2 separate regions of the Homo sapiens genome follow, and region 2 is linked to region 1. The links are contacts of gene promoters, found by promoter capture Hi-C in blood cells and fetal thymus (Javierre and others, 2016). All regions are on one chromosome and are shown on one strand. Each heading gives the region's core, a stretch centred on a gene start or on the middle of the fragment in contact. The rest is flanking DNA. Distances are from core to core; before and after follow the strand shown.

Region 1 (6,648 bases), core at 1,561-4,060:
TTTACTGTTCAAGTCCAGATGACCAGTAAAGCAAGTTCCTGGAAGTAATAATATAGCAGTTAAGAGCACAGTCCCAGCCAGGCACAGTGGCTCACGCCTGTAATCCCAGCACTTTGGGAGGCTGAGGCGAGCAGATCACGAGGTCAGGAGTCGAGACCATCCTGGCTAACACAGTGAAACCCCGTCTCTACTAAAAATATAAAAAATTAAACAGGCGTTGTGGCGGGCGCCTGTAGTCCCGGCTACTTGGGAGGCTGAGGCAGGAGGATGGCGTGACCCCGGGAGGCGGAGCTTGCAGTGAGCAGAGATCCCGCCACTGCACCCCAGCCTGAGTAACAGAGCAAGACTCCGTCAAAAAAAAAAAAAAAAAAAACGATCACAGAGCACAGTCCCTGAATTAAGATTACCTGGATTCAAATCTAGACTTCATTACTTTCTAGGGTGTGTGACAGGGTAAGTTACTTAACCTCTCTGTAATTTAGGTTATCAGCCAAAAGACAGAAACCTTCTGTTATTTTAGCAGAGAATACTTGCTAGAAAGAGTCATTACCTGTGTATTAAAGAACTGCAAAGGCATAAAGAAAACACTGAAATAATACAGACATAGAAACTGCATGAATCAGCCACAGCCCAGTCACTACTAACTCCCTAAGCAATCCCTGGCCTTTAGTTTCCCCACCTGTAAAATGCTGAAGTTGGGGGGAAAAATCGTTTCACTTTCATTCCGGTGGCGTGATACGAGATTCTAAGAAACAGGGAGAAAATTCCGTGAGTGGAGCCAATAACCAAGTCAAACATCAGGGGGGTCTATGAACACTGCTCCAAGGAATCTCTCTCTGGATAACCAGACCTTGTGCCCTAGCCCCAGCCCGTCATCTCCACTGCTAGAGAAAAAAAATACAGTTAGTCTGTCCAAGGCTGTTAGAGTCCTCCAACATATAAGACGCATTTCCATTTTACTAGCTTCATGGTCTGCTTGGGGTGGGGATGGCGGGGAGATCGTATCCTTGAAGTAGGCACTAGGACTGTGAGTCACTTGCCTGTCTAGAGCACCAGGACTGTTTGCAAAGGGCTGAGGAGATTTCCATCAATGGAAAAGAGCATGAATTTAGAGTAAACATAGATTACACTTAGAGATCAGAGATCAATCTAGAGATAAAATACACTTTTCTCTAAAGGGGGTGGGAGAAGATGTTGGACAAGAAATACCAGATTTTCTTAATGGTTCATTTATGTCAGGCTCTATGGTGGGGACTTTTATGTTATTTGACTTAATCCTCACAACAATTCTGAAAAATCTTTTTTCAAATTTTATGAGAAAGTGAACTGGATATTTAACTGATTTTCTCACGAATTCCTTCTGAGGCTCAGAAGTGTGAAAGAAGCCCAAATGACCAAGGTTCTTTAACAATTTGGTCAAAACAGGTCATAGACCCAGAGGAAGGTCTGGATCCTGGAAGTTTTCTTAAGCAAAGACAGTGCTTGTTGTGGATATGAAGATGTTGACTAAGCTGGGCACAGTGGCTCACACCTGTAATCCCAGCTTTGGGAGGCCAAGGCAGGTGGATCACCTGAGATCAGGAGTTCGAGACCAGCCTGACCAACATGGTGAAATCCTGTCTCTAGTAAAAATACAAAAATTAGACAGGCATGGTGGTGGGCACCCATAGTCCCAGCTACTGGGGAGGCTGAGGCAGGAGAATCACTTGAACCTGGGAGGTGGAGGTTACAGTGAGCTGAGACTGCACCATTGCACTCCAGCCTGAGCAACAAGAGCAAAAAACTCCATCTCAAAAAAAAAAAAAGATGTTGACCAAATGGCAGACTCTTGCCATGAAGCAAGCCCAGACCTCAGTGCCAAGAGATGTGAATTAGATTCCTGCCTCTTCCACAGACTAGACATGTGACTGGGGGCAGATTCCTTCAGCAATATCACCTCATTTGGAGAAGAACTGGACTAAAATACCCTCCAAGTAGTTTATGAGTTATTTAAATCTCCCAGGCTTAGGTTTGCTCCTCTCTTAGGGGATAGCCTTGCCACCCTTCAGGAAATGGAGACTGTATATGGAGCATGTTGTGCCGCCAGCTGCTGCATGTCCCAGAGCCATCTTAAACCCTACCCTTCTGAACAATGGCTAGTCTACAAGAAGCCTTAAAAGGGATGTGAAAGTGGCAACAGTGTCCCCTCAACAACAAATACTTCCCCAAATATGAGCTTGTGTGGAGCCTGATGACTCTGCCTCTGAGGCCAATCCACTGGCATCTTTCCCAAGATGTGCCTGGACTTCCCTGAGCATGAGGCCAAAGATGGAGAATGGAAACACCCAAAAGAAGTAACAAGGAGACACGGAATTTTCCACAGGTTGCTTTCAGCTTACCAAGAGCCTGGAAAGTGAGAGAATAGATTCTCCAAAATTCAAAACTAACATTACTATTATCAATATTTATTGTCTACTTTTTGTAAACTCTTTGCATCTTTTTTCTTTAATTCTCCCAACACCCACAGAGTGGAATTATTATTATCCATCCACCATTTATTTAATAGACAAGAAAACTCAGGCTAAGCAAAACTAGATGACTTAAATAATTCTATGTAGGAGTAGGGAAAATGAATTTTAACTGGGACCGTACAAATCACTAGTCTGCACAAAGGTCTTTTTCTCATGTGTCACTTCTATCTTGTGTCATTTTGCCAGACCTCAGAATTTAGAAAGAGGAAGCAGAGGCACTTTTTATATATCAACTGTCTGTAACTACAGCAAAATTCACATCCTGTGTAATCATAAATACTGCTCTAAGAAAGGGACAGGAAGTCTCAGAGGCTGGAGAGCAGAGCACCAAGATCGTTCTGGCAGGAACAGCCAGTGGGAGGTTCCAGCTGAGCGCTCCCCAGAGGTGAGCTGATCCCCAGCCACAGCACACAGGACCAGGCTGCGAGAACAGGTAGACACCTTGGTTTAGATCATGACTTTTGGGGAAGATTGTGTGCTTTTGAAAAGACAGCCAGGGAATTGGATTATCATCCTGTCTCTGATTCTGACCACCTGTGTGAGTTGGAGCGTCAGCTCAGTCCCCTTTTTGGGTCTCAGTTTACTCACTTGTCAAATAAGAAAATTGGGTAAAACCATTCTTAGGTTTCCCTCATTGAGGTGATTTTCCTCAATGTTCTGCATTCTCCTGGTGTGTCACTCAGTCTTACAGAGTCTACTCTCAACAAATACTGTGCAATTAGACTGAATCTTGCATTAGAACCCCATGGTCCTACTCTAATTCTGTAATACAGAAAATTGCTGGGCAGAGCTGTTGACCTCCATGTCATGATTTATCTTCAAAGCACGGATTTTAGAGCTGTCTTGAAAGCTGTGGGTCCCTCCAGTCTATCTCCTCAAGGCGAATGTGGAAGGACAAAGCATCCTCTCAGACTGTGGTGTTTGGAGATGATAGCATCAGTCTGGAGACTTTTGTGAAACATAAAGAATCTTGGTTATATAGGATTCCTTCTAAAAGTAGCAACGTGTATCTAAATTCAAGTGTCATAGATTTAAATGTAATAATTCCACTTCCATACATCACTGTGAGATAATTAAATGCAGGAGGTATCACAAAAGTGCAAAGATGTTCATTATTGCATTGTTCATAGTGGCAAAAAGAAAAAATAGAAACCACCTAAATAGTCATGAACATGTGATTGATTAAATGAATCTAGAGACCTCCATTTATTTAAATATACCATTTGGCTTTTTGGTTGTAGTAAAATATGCTTAAAATAATTGTAGCCTTTTAACCATGTGTTTTTTTGTTGTTTTTTGTTTGTTTGTTTGTTTGTTTTTTAATTGAGAAAGAGTTTTGCTCAGTCACCCAGGCTAGAGTGCGTGATCTCGGCTTACTGCAACCACTGTCTTCCAGGTTCAAGCGATTCTCCCATCTCAGCCTCCTGAGTAGCTGGGATTACAGGCACTCACCATCATGCCTGGCTAATTTTTGTATTTTTTTAGTAGAGACGGGGTTTCACCATGTTGGCCACGCTGGTCTTGAATTCCTGACCTCAGGTGATCTGCCCGCCTCGGCCTCCCAAAGTGCTAGGATTACAGGCATGAGCCGCTGCACCCAGCCTTAACCATTTTTAGGTGTACAGTTCAGTGGCATTAAGCACATTCACACCATTGTGCAACCATCACCACCACCCAACTCCAGAACTTTCTTGTCTTCCCAAACTGGAACTCCGTGCCCATTAAACAATAGCTTTCCATTCCCCTCTCCCGCCAGCCCCTGGCAACCACCATTCTACTTTCAGTGAATTTGACTCTTCTAGGTGCCTCACATAAGTAGAATCATACAATATTTGTCCTTTTGTGACTGGATTATTTCACTTGCCATATTGTCTTCAAGGTTCATCCATGTTGTGCCATGTATCAGAATCTATCATTTGCTTTTAAATTTAGGCTTTTTATTATTTCTATTCATCGGTCAAAGATGTCTACAGAATAATGTTGAGTACAAAAAGAACAGTTATAAAATGGCATGGATAGAATGACTATTTCCGTAGAATTGTGAATGTCTGTGAACATATATAAAGAGGAGAGAGATAAAGTGACAGATGGGAAGAGAGAATGTAAAGAATATGTGCATAGGAAACAAGAGTGATCGGGTGGCAGTTGAAAGTTAAGGAGCTAATTTGTTTTCTTCTTCAAACTGTATTCCCTTGTAATGGTGGTACTTTATGCACTCTTTCAAACAGAACAAACAGTTAAGAAATAACAAAGGAAAATAAATGTTCATGGTATCAGATAGGCTATAGCCTGAAAGTATCAATTAAACTTTCGAGTCCTAGCTTCAGGCTGAGAATCAAGCATTTTCTGCAGTCCTTAGGTATGAGATTCGAAAAATAAAGAAAGGAACCCAGAACTCAGGAGGCTGGTGACGAAGACTAGTAGGAAGGAGTCTAGTTGGTATATTTGGGCTATTGAGCCACACAGAGCAAGGTAAAAGCCAAGTTTCTACAACATGAAAGCAAGTTGGGAAAAAGAAATCTTCAACCTATATTCCCTAAGATCAGCAATGTCCCTGGGAGAGGATATGGAACTGATGAGTGGCAGCCAATGCTTCAACAATAGGGGAGGAAGAATAGAGAGGATGAGAATCAGTTGTAGCTAGCCGGGCAAGAACAAACCTACAGGGATATAGAAGAGCTCTGGTGTTAGATGGCCTGTGCCCAAATCTTGCCTCCACTACCTGCTAGATAAGCAATCTTGCACAAGCTATTTCACCTCTCCAAGCCTCATTTTTCTTATCTTCAAAGTTCAGCACCCATCTCTGAGACTGCAGATTAAATGAGACTGTCACAAAGCTCTTAATAGAATGCCACATTCATAGTACGTGCCCAATCAATGTTAGCAATGATTATCATTTTATCATGAACTACTGTTTGATTCTGGAACCTAGAATTTCTCTAAGCCTGACACTTTTTCTCCTTCTCTGGCTTTAAAGATGTGCTGGAAGGCTCACCCTGACTCCACTGCAGGGATTCAGCTTCAACATTATTCCCCTCATAGGACATGTAACCTCACCCACACTTCTACCCAGATTTCAAAATTCCAAGAAATGAAAACTATCTCCTTAAACAAAGAGAACTTTAGGTTTAATAATTCTTCAGATAAAGTATCTCATGCCCGGAGAGCATGAGAAACTAGACTAAGGCACAGATCTAGGAGTAGAAATAAAATGGAGGTCCAAACATGGATCGACTATTATGGAACACCTGATAAAACTCAGAGAGTTACAACAAAAGACACTCACGTGTGTCATTCAAATCCTCACAAGAGTCCTTCAGGATAGTGTCATTATCCTTATTTTACAGATAAGGAAACTGGGGATGAATGAGGGAAAGTATCCTGCCTACGGCCAGCTCATCAATATCAGAACTGGGCTTCCAATGAATATTAGATAAAACTGATATGTTTTGGGAGTTTATCACATGCCTCCCCCTATGCTGAGTCCATTATATGTGTCATCTTATCCAACCTGTACCACAAACCTATGAAGTGGTGAAAATACCTTGCCCAGGGTGAGTTTAGCAGTAACTGGTGGATATGGGATCTGAACACACGACTGGACTCCAAGACATATGGTCAGATGTGCAACTAGATGCCTAGGCATTGGACTCCCATCCCAGTGCACTTTTCCATCTCCCTCACTAGGAAGAGATTCTAGGTGTCATTTCCAATTTTTACATGTTCTTCACTCCACCCAAGAGAGGCCAGAACCATTCCTAAAGCACCAACACATTGAGGCAAAATGTCAGGCAGCAGAGCTGTGGCACCTTTCAAGGATGACAAGCCTTTAACTAAACTCTGGCCTTCAGTAGGGAGAATGTTGAGCTGAAAACAAATCTGGGCAACATTTCAGGTGCTGAGCCTTGTTGCTGACACCACAGAGGCCCAGCAATGCTGCTGAGTTAGTGGTGGCAGACAACTTGCTCCTGGAATCTACAAGGGAACTGGAAATGTTAGGAAGGAAGAAAGGAAGGAAGAGGAAGAGGAGGAGAATTAACATGGCATAGAGAAAAAAATATCACAAGCGTCTGAGCCAGACAAGTCTCAATCCAGTCATGTAAACACAGGCTGTTAATATTTGCTACCATATATTGAA
Region 2 (6,648 bases), core at 2,645-5,144, 230 kb after region 1:
ATATATCATATATTATATATATTATATATTATATTATATAATATTCTATATTCTATATTCTTTTTCTATAAATGTAGACAAAGAAATAAATATAATAAATAAGGATCTTCTTAATATCATATCACCTCTCTGATTCTATACATGGACAAAGTGCAATTATGCAGCAGCATTATACATATGCATGCAGTTCTCTACCATCTTCAAGATAAAATCCTAAATATCTAGCTAGATAGCACCTATCTTTCCAACAAAATTTTCTACATCTCTCCTTCTTCCACTCCAAAATGAACCATAACAAACTCCTGAAATGTTAGTTCTCTGATATCCTGAAACTGTATGGCACTATGAATTTGCCTAAATTATTACAATTTTTTACATTCTATTCATATTTAACATGCACTTGTTTGTCTTCCTCAATAGTCTGAAAATTCCTTGAGTGCAGAGACCATTTCTTTCCTTTTTATCAACTAATGCAGAGCATAGATTGCAGAATATAGAATAGGCATTCAATAAATTGTCAGTGGATAAATAAACTTGTTTATTATATCAAAAGTTTTATCATCTCCAAAATTGTTTATTCCTATTGGGATCCTGACAAATCTGCAGTTCTGACAGTCTTTGTAATGATCCTACTATGCTGAAAAGATCAGAATTTATATAAACCTTTTACTTTTAAAAAAACTTTTACTTTAATATACTTGTCAATGATGCATATGGATAATTTCCAATGACCAAATGATTATTTTTCTCTATTGCAGGTGTCTTATACTTTAGTAGCAAACATCGTAAGTGCCTGTATTTCAGTGATTGGTCTGCTTTTACTATCAGTTGAGTTTATAATATATAGTAAAAGTTCAAAAAATTCTCTTTGGCCACATGTATGTACCAGGTTTCTGTGAGAATCTCATCACAATTTTAGAATTATGTGTTAAATATTTCCTAAGTGGTCAGACTACTTAAGTACAATGCAAGTCATGGAGGTGACCCTCACCATTAGTTTACCTCATGGTATATGCATATATTAAAAATGTGAATCAAACTACAAGTTATATTTCTAAACCTAAGACCAACCAAAACCTCAAGTAAACAAATGAAAGGTATTATACATATTAATAGATGCATTTTGAGTAACTAAGCATTATATTCAATTCTGGACCCACCTGATAGCCATGATATTTTTACGATGGGCAGCTCAGTTCATTCCAGGTACCTGCATCTCTGAGGTCAGTTCTCCCAGGCCTTAAAAGATCAAGTTTGTTATAGCAAGACTTGGTCTTCCAAGAAGGAACTGGCATACTCATGTACCTGTGATACCCAAGGGCTTATGTTCAATGTCAGGGCTGTAGTTTACAGACAGAATAAAGCTGAACTCTGTACATGTATGTAATTTTGAATGCACGTACTCAGTTCTATATCGTTCATGACTATGTGGACATTTTTGCACTGCCTGCTTTGAGTCTGTCAGTTGTTCAGCAGGTCTGTGGGAGTCTAACTGTGTTCACATTTGCATTTCAATATCTGTGTATATCTATGTTCCCATTCATGTGGAACTGTGGACATATGTGCATTTATCTGTATACATTTGTTGGTGTAGAGAGAAGGGGCTAGGAGGGCAAGAAGGCAGAAGTCAGTGCTAAGCAAGTTGTGCAGAAATTGAAGCGATAAGGGCCAAAGTCTTCTCTAGGATTTCGGTCCTTCTGCTCTATCCCATCTGCCCAGGGCTTGATGAAGGGCAAAATAGTGGGAACTTTTACCAATACTTAGAAATCAACTTTTCTGAATTGAACCCATTGGATATTGCCTGTATTTAAATTCCTAACTAATTAAGTAAACTCTCCTTACTTCAACATCCAAAACTCTTGGTTAATTATCTAGTTGCAAAGAATACACCAGTTTGCATTTTATTGGATTTTTCTTATTTCTATGTAGCTTTGAAAGTGATTTTACAGTGAGTGCAATGGTAAACCTCCTTAGGAACGATTTATGTCTCTGATTCAATAAAGAAATGAGTTTAGAAATTTTAAACTACTTGCTCAGAGTCACGTGGCTAGTCACTTACAGATCATTTTTTCTAATGCAGAATGGTTTTAAATTCTAAATTATCTTACCCCACAAAATGGAGCTTTTACAAAAATCAATTCAGTGGCACATCAAAGAATCATTTTGCTGCTGCGGAGAATGCTAATATTTTATGACACATACCCTGATGGATACCTTAAAGTGGTATCTTAAATAAATAGAAACATAAAGATATTGCTTAAGATTATATTTGTATAACAAGAATGGCTCATTTTATTGGATTGATCTTTAATTATGATCTTAACTCTTTCATTTTTCTAATTTATCTCTTAAACTATCATATTCATATTAGTAGGAAATCCAGAATCTTCCTTCTGAGGGCCCCTCCCTGTTGACCCTCTCAAGTTACTCAAAACCACTGGGATCCAAAGGTTCGATATTGACTCCAAGCCCTTAGTTAACAGAGTCATGTAGTACCTCATCAGTCCACCAGTGTGCCCTTAATTTCCACTGCTATGGTTCAGTTACTATTAAATGACGCCATTATTTAACACTGATTTGAGTAGCCCATGGTGACCTTGTCATAAAAGTGCACTGAGTACTGAAGAGGCTTGGGCTTCCAATATTACGGATTCTGTATTCTTGTCTCTAACCCAGCTATACTGTCAGGATATGGGTCTATTGGAGCTTATAGACAGAGGCACAATCCCAGGAGGAAATTCCTACCCCCAGGTCACATCAGCCCTTGTGTTGAGTCCAGGTTACAAGTCCAAACATTCTTTTCTTTCATTGTTTCTCTTTAGTGTCCTTTCCTATCAACAGGGCAAATTTATGTAAGTTTCTCTATTAAATAAGTTCTATAACACTAAACCTCAAGGGTGTCACAATTCCATCTTCCCCAGAGATTTATTGGACTCAATGAAAATTTCCTGTTATTATCCACAACAATAAACAGGAAAACACAATCAATGATTCTCATCATACATTTGGCAGAAATATATCAGTATATCATCATCCTCAATAATTATCCATTGTAATTACAATTAAAAAATATTTAAAATTCTATTGTTGAGGGTGGAGGATAGGGTGGGTAGTTTTTCTCTTCTATTTTTCTTCTTCAATTTTAAGATACCTTTATTATTTCTAAAGTGCTCACATAGAAAGATCTGTAAGGAATGTACATTTTCTTTGTGGATACAGAAAAGTGGCAAACTCCTTTCGGAATATCTGTTCATATTAACCATCTTGGAGTTGTTTGTGGCAAGTATAGTCAGCCACTGGGCATCCTAAGCAAAAAAGAGAAGAAGATAAAGATGCAGTGAGTATCCCATTTTTCCCTTAGTAGATCAGAAGATGTTGTCTTCTGTTATGAACACTATTTGAATAACTAAGGTTTTGATATGAATTAAGTATAAATAATGCCATCACTAAGCTGTGATTGTAGATAGCTGAAAACACTCGGCACTAACTGTCATGCACTTATATGGGTCCCTCCACAACTGAATAAATAATTTTCCCTTTTATAAAGGTGTTTTGCATTACAGGATGCTTTTATGTCCATAACATATGAGAGAATAAGGTAGAAGATATGTGATTTTCTGGCTCAGGTCTGTTTAATTCTACAGACATTACCCTGGAAACAAAAAGCTTTGTAGAAGTTGTTACCAGGCACGGGGATATGGGACTACTGAAGACTGAAGCCTTTATTTCTCAAAATTTGGGAGAACAAGTTGAATATCTAAGTGTAGAACTTTAGTGTCTTCAGAAACCAAGATTTGGGAGTAATGGAGAAGTTGAAAAAGATGGTAAAGCCTTTTTTCAATAAAGCTATTTTCCTACTTTCTCCATATCAACTACTTCACGTCTAAAGGAAAACTTAACCTCCATTTGACCTCACTAAATCAGAGAACTTCAATCTCACTAAATCAGAGAACTTCAGTGAAAGATATGCCTGCCCTTTTTCCCCAGTACCCACTCAACAGGCCGAGGCTTAGAGATCTATGAGATCATAAAAACAACTGAGAAGGAGACCACAGTTAACACAAAGAAGAAAGTGAGTTGTCCATATATCCTAGACCACATGTGTAGAAAGGTTTAGGAAATTTAAGCTTCCTCCCCATTTTACCACTTTCTAATCTCATCTGTTTGACCCTTTGACCTGCCTTCTTACCTGGGTCTTACTTAATCTCTTCAGGTTGCTGTTCTGTCCCTTGACTTTTCCAACTGTACCTCTATAGTTTTTGTATAGGCAACACCATATATACCTACAGCTTGGTAGATGTATACCATCTATAAATTTATAATAATCCAAATGTTAAATCTCCACCCTAGACCTTTCTACTGAGCTCTAGGCTCATATTGCCAACTTCTCTCTAGAGAGTTTGATTCGAAGGATTCCAAAGCACCTCAAATAAAACATATCTAAAACTGAACTAATCATCTCACCCACAAAGTCATTACCTTGTCTTTTCCATTTAAGAGCACCACCATCTATCTACCTGCCTGCCCTGGCGAGGGAGCTGAGAAATACTCTCAAATTGAAACAATTTGACAATCCTTTTTACATGATCCCCTAAATGTATTTCAATTCTGTCCTCTGTTTCTTCATCTCCCCAAATGAAAGTTTAAACAGGAAACACTTACCACACGAAAGCCTGATATTCTAGCACAACATTCATTTCTGTAATAATTTAGCCCAATCTACTTTCTTGACTTCATTTCCTACCACTCACGCCCATAAATGCTGTGCTCCAGCCTCACCAATTTACTTATCATTCCATAAATATGCCTTGTTAAGTTTACCATCTTAATTTGTAAATAGCTTTGTTTAGGAATCTCTATTTTGAATTAAACTGATAAAATGAATTAGGAGGGAGAGGAATTTATCATATAGATTTCTTTTCTTGTATTTCCCACTTTCTCTTGACACTCAGAGGCTACATCTTCATTTGTACTGCAAAAGTCACTTGCTTTTCAAAACATGTGAATTAGCTATAATTCCAGATGAATTAGGGTATTGAAAACCTGTTATCTGGATCACTGATTGCCTTTCAATGAATCTTCTTTAAGTAAGGTATTAAAATGGGGAGCTGAAGTTCCATCTAAAGGTATTCAAACTCGAAATCTCAAAAAAATATGGCTCTAACTAAAAGCAAAGTAAACAAAACACACCAAACACACACACACACACACACACACACACACACACACACTCACAGAGGTCTTATTCTTAATTCTTCTCTGAATAAAGTGAAAAGAGAACAAACATGGATTGGGTATATAAGAACATATAGATTTCTACTCCAACTAAATAGAATTTAAACTGACAGCTATTCAATGCTATACTTAATAATGTAATCAAGTTTGAGTAGAAAACAATATGCCCTTTATGATCAATCATTGTCTTGGGGACTGTCTTTTCATATAGCATTGTCTTTGGCTTTCAATCTATAGAAACAAAAAAGAAGGGAGGATGGAAACCAGGGAGAAAGGGAGAGAGGACAAAGAAAAAAACTAAAAAGTATCAAAAGCACATGGTTTAATTTAAAAATCTCGCCTGGTGGGGTGGTTCACACCCATAATTCCAGCACTTTGAGAGGCTAAAGCAGGGGAATTGCTTGAGCTCAGGATTTTGAGACCAGCCTGGGGAACACAATGAGACCCCATCTCTACAAAAATATAAAATAAAATAAAATAAAATAAAATAAAATAAAATAAAATAAAATAAAATAAAATAGTAAAGTAAAGTAAAATAAAATAAAATAAAATGCATAAAGTTGAAAAAATTACCCAGGAGTGGTGGCACATCCCTGCAGTCCTTAGCTACTTAGGAGGGGAAGGTGGAAGGAGGGCTTGTGCCCAGGAATTCAGAGTTACAGTGAGCAATGATAGTGCCACTGCATTCCAGGCTGGGTGACAGAGACCTCATCTCTAAAAAAATAAATAAAATAAAAATCTCAATGAGGAGAATACTTCTATTAGAATTATTTCCAAAATTCTAACCCAAATTCTATAGTTCTTTATTTTAGAGTGTGCTAATGATCAATTTACTGATATCTAACTTACCTCAGGTTCATGGCAGAAGGAGATCCTTTCTCTGCATATTAAAGAAACCATCAGTGAGCTCAGTCAAGGAGGAAAGTTTAGTGGCAAATGAAGAACTTCATTCTGTTCAAGAGGCTTCTTGGAAAATGTAATTTCATTAAATCCATCTCAGTATTCTCTTCCCCCTATTTCATTAATAAAAATTAAAATTGATGAATATGGTTATTTTTGTCTACATGAGGAACTGTGCATGAATTTATCTCAGTTTGAATATGGTCAGCCTGAGTTAAGGGATTCTTCCATACAAGAGAAGTTCTATGAATGGGCACATGTTACTAGAGTAGAATCTATACCTAAAATTGATAATGATGTAATAAATGCTAACTCGAGAAAATTATTTCATTGTGAGAAGGAGACTTCGCATAAATGATAAATAATCCCATTGCTTGTGAAGGCTTCTTTGCTTATTAGCTCTAAATACTACTAATTATTTCTTTCTCACTGGATATTATTAAAACATGCATAGCTTACCTACAGTGAAGAAGGTATATTACAATTAGCCATATCTTTATGTTATTGAGACTA

What was found. The method cuts DNA at HindIII sites, captures the fragments that hold promoters and counts their contacts. A CHiCAGO score of 5 or more calls a contact.
Region 2: a fragment that was not itself captured here is called in contact with the fragment with the promoter of MS4A7 in region 1 in 1 of 17 cell types (naive B cells); the score reaches 5.9 in naive B cells.

Annotation. Positions count from the first base shown.
Region 1 is chr11:60,375,722-60,382,369 of GRCh38, forward strand. It overlaps MS4A7 (membrane spanning 4-domains A7), which reads left to right and starts at 2,811. Exons shown (of 7, transcript NM_021201.5): 1 at 2,811-2,943. RefSeq lists enhancers at 1,843-2,082, 2,763-2,812. The HindIII fragment of the contact is 12,513 bases long and covers 1-6,648 here.
Region 2 is chr11:60,605,160-60,611,807 of GRCh38, forward strand. LOC105369321 (a long non-coding RNA gene) reads right to left here. Exons shown (of 6, transcript XR_001748240.2): 5 at 6,085-6,248; 6 at 3,136-3,305. It also overlaps the pseudogene MS4A19P. Among named protein-coding and RNA genes, the nearest start is that of LINC00301, 7.3 kb to the right of the region's middle. The HindIII fragment of the contact is 461 bases long and covers 3,665-4,125 here.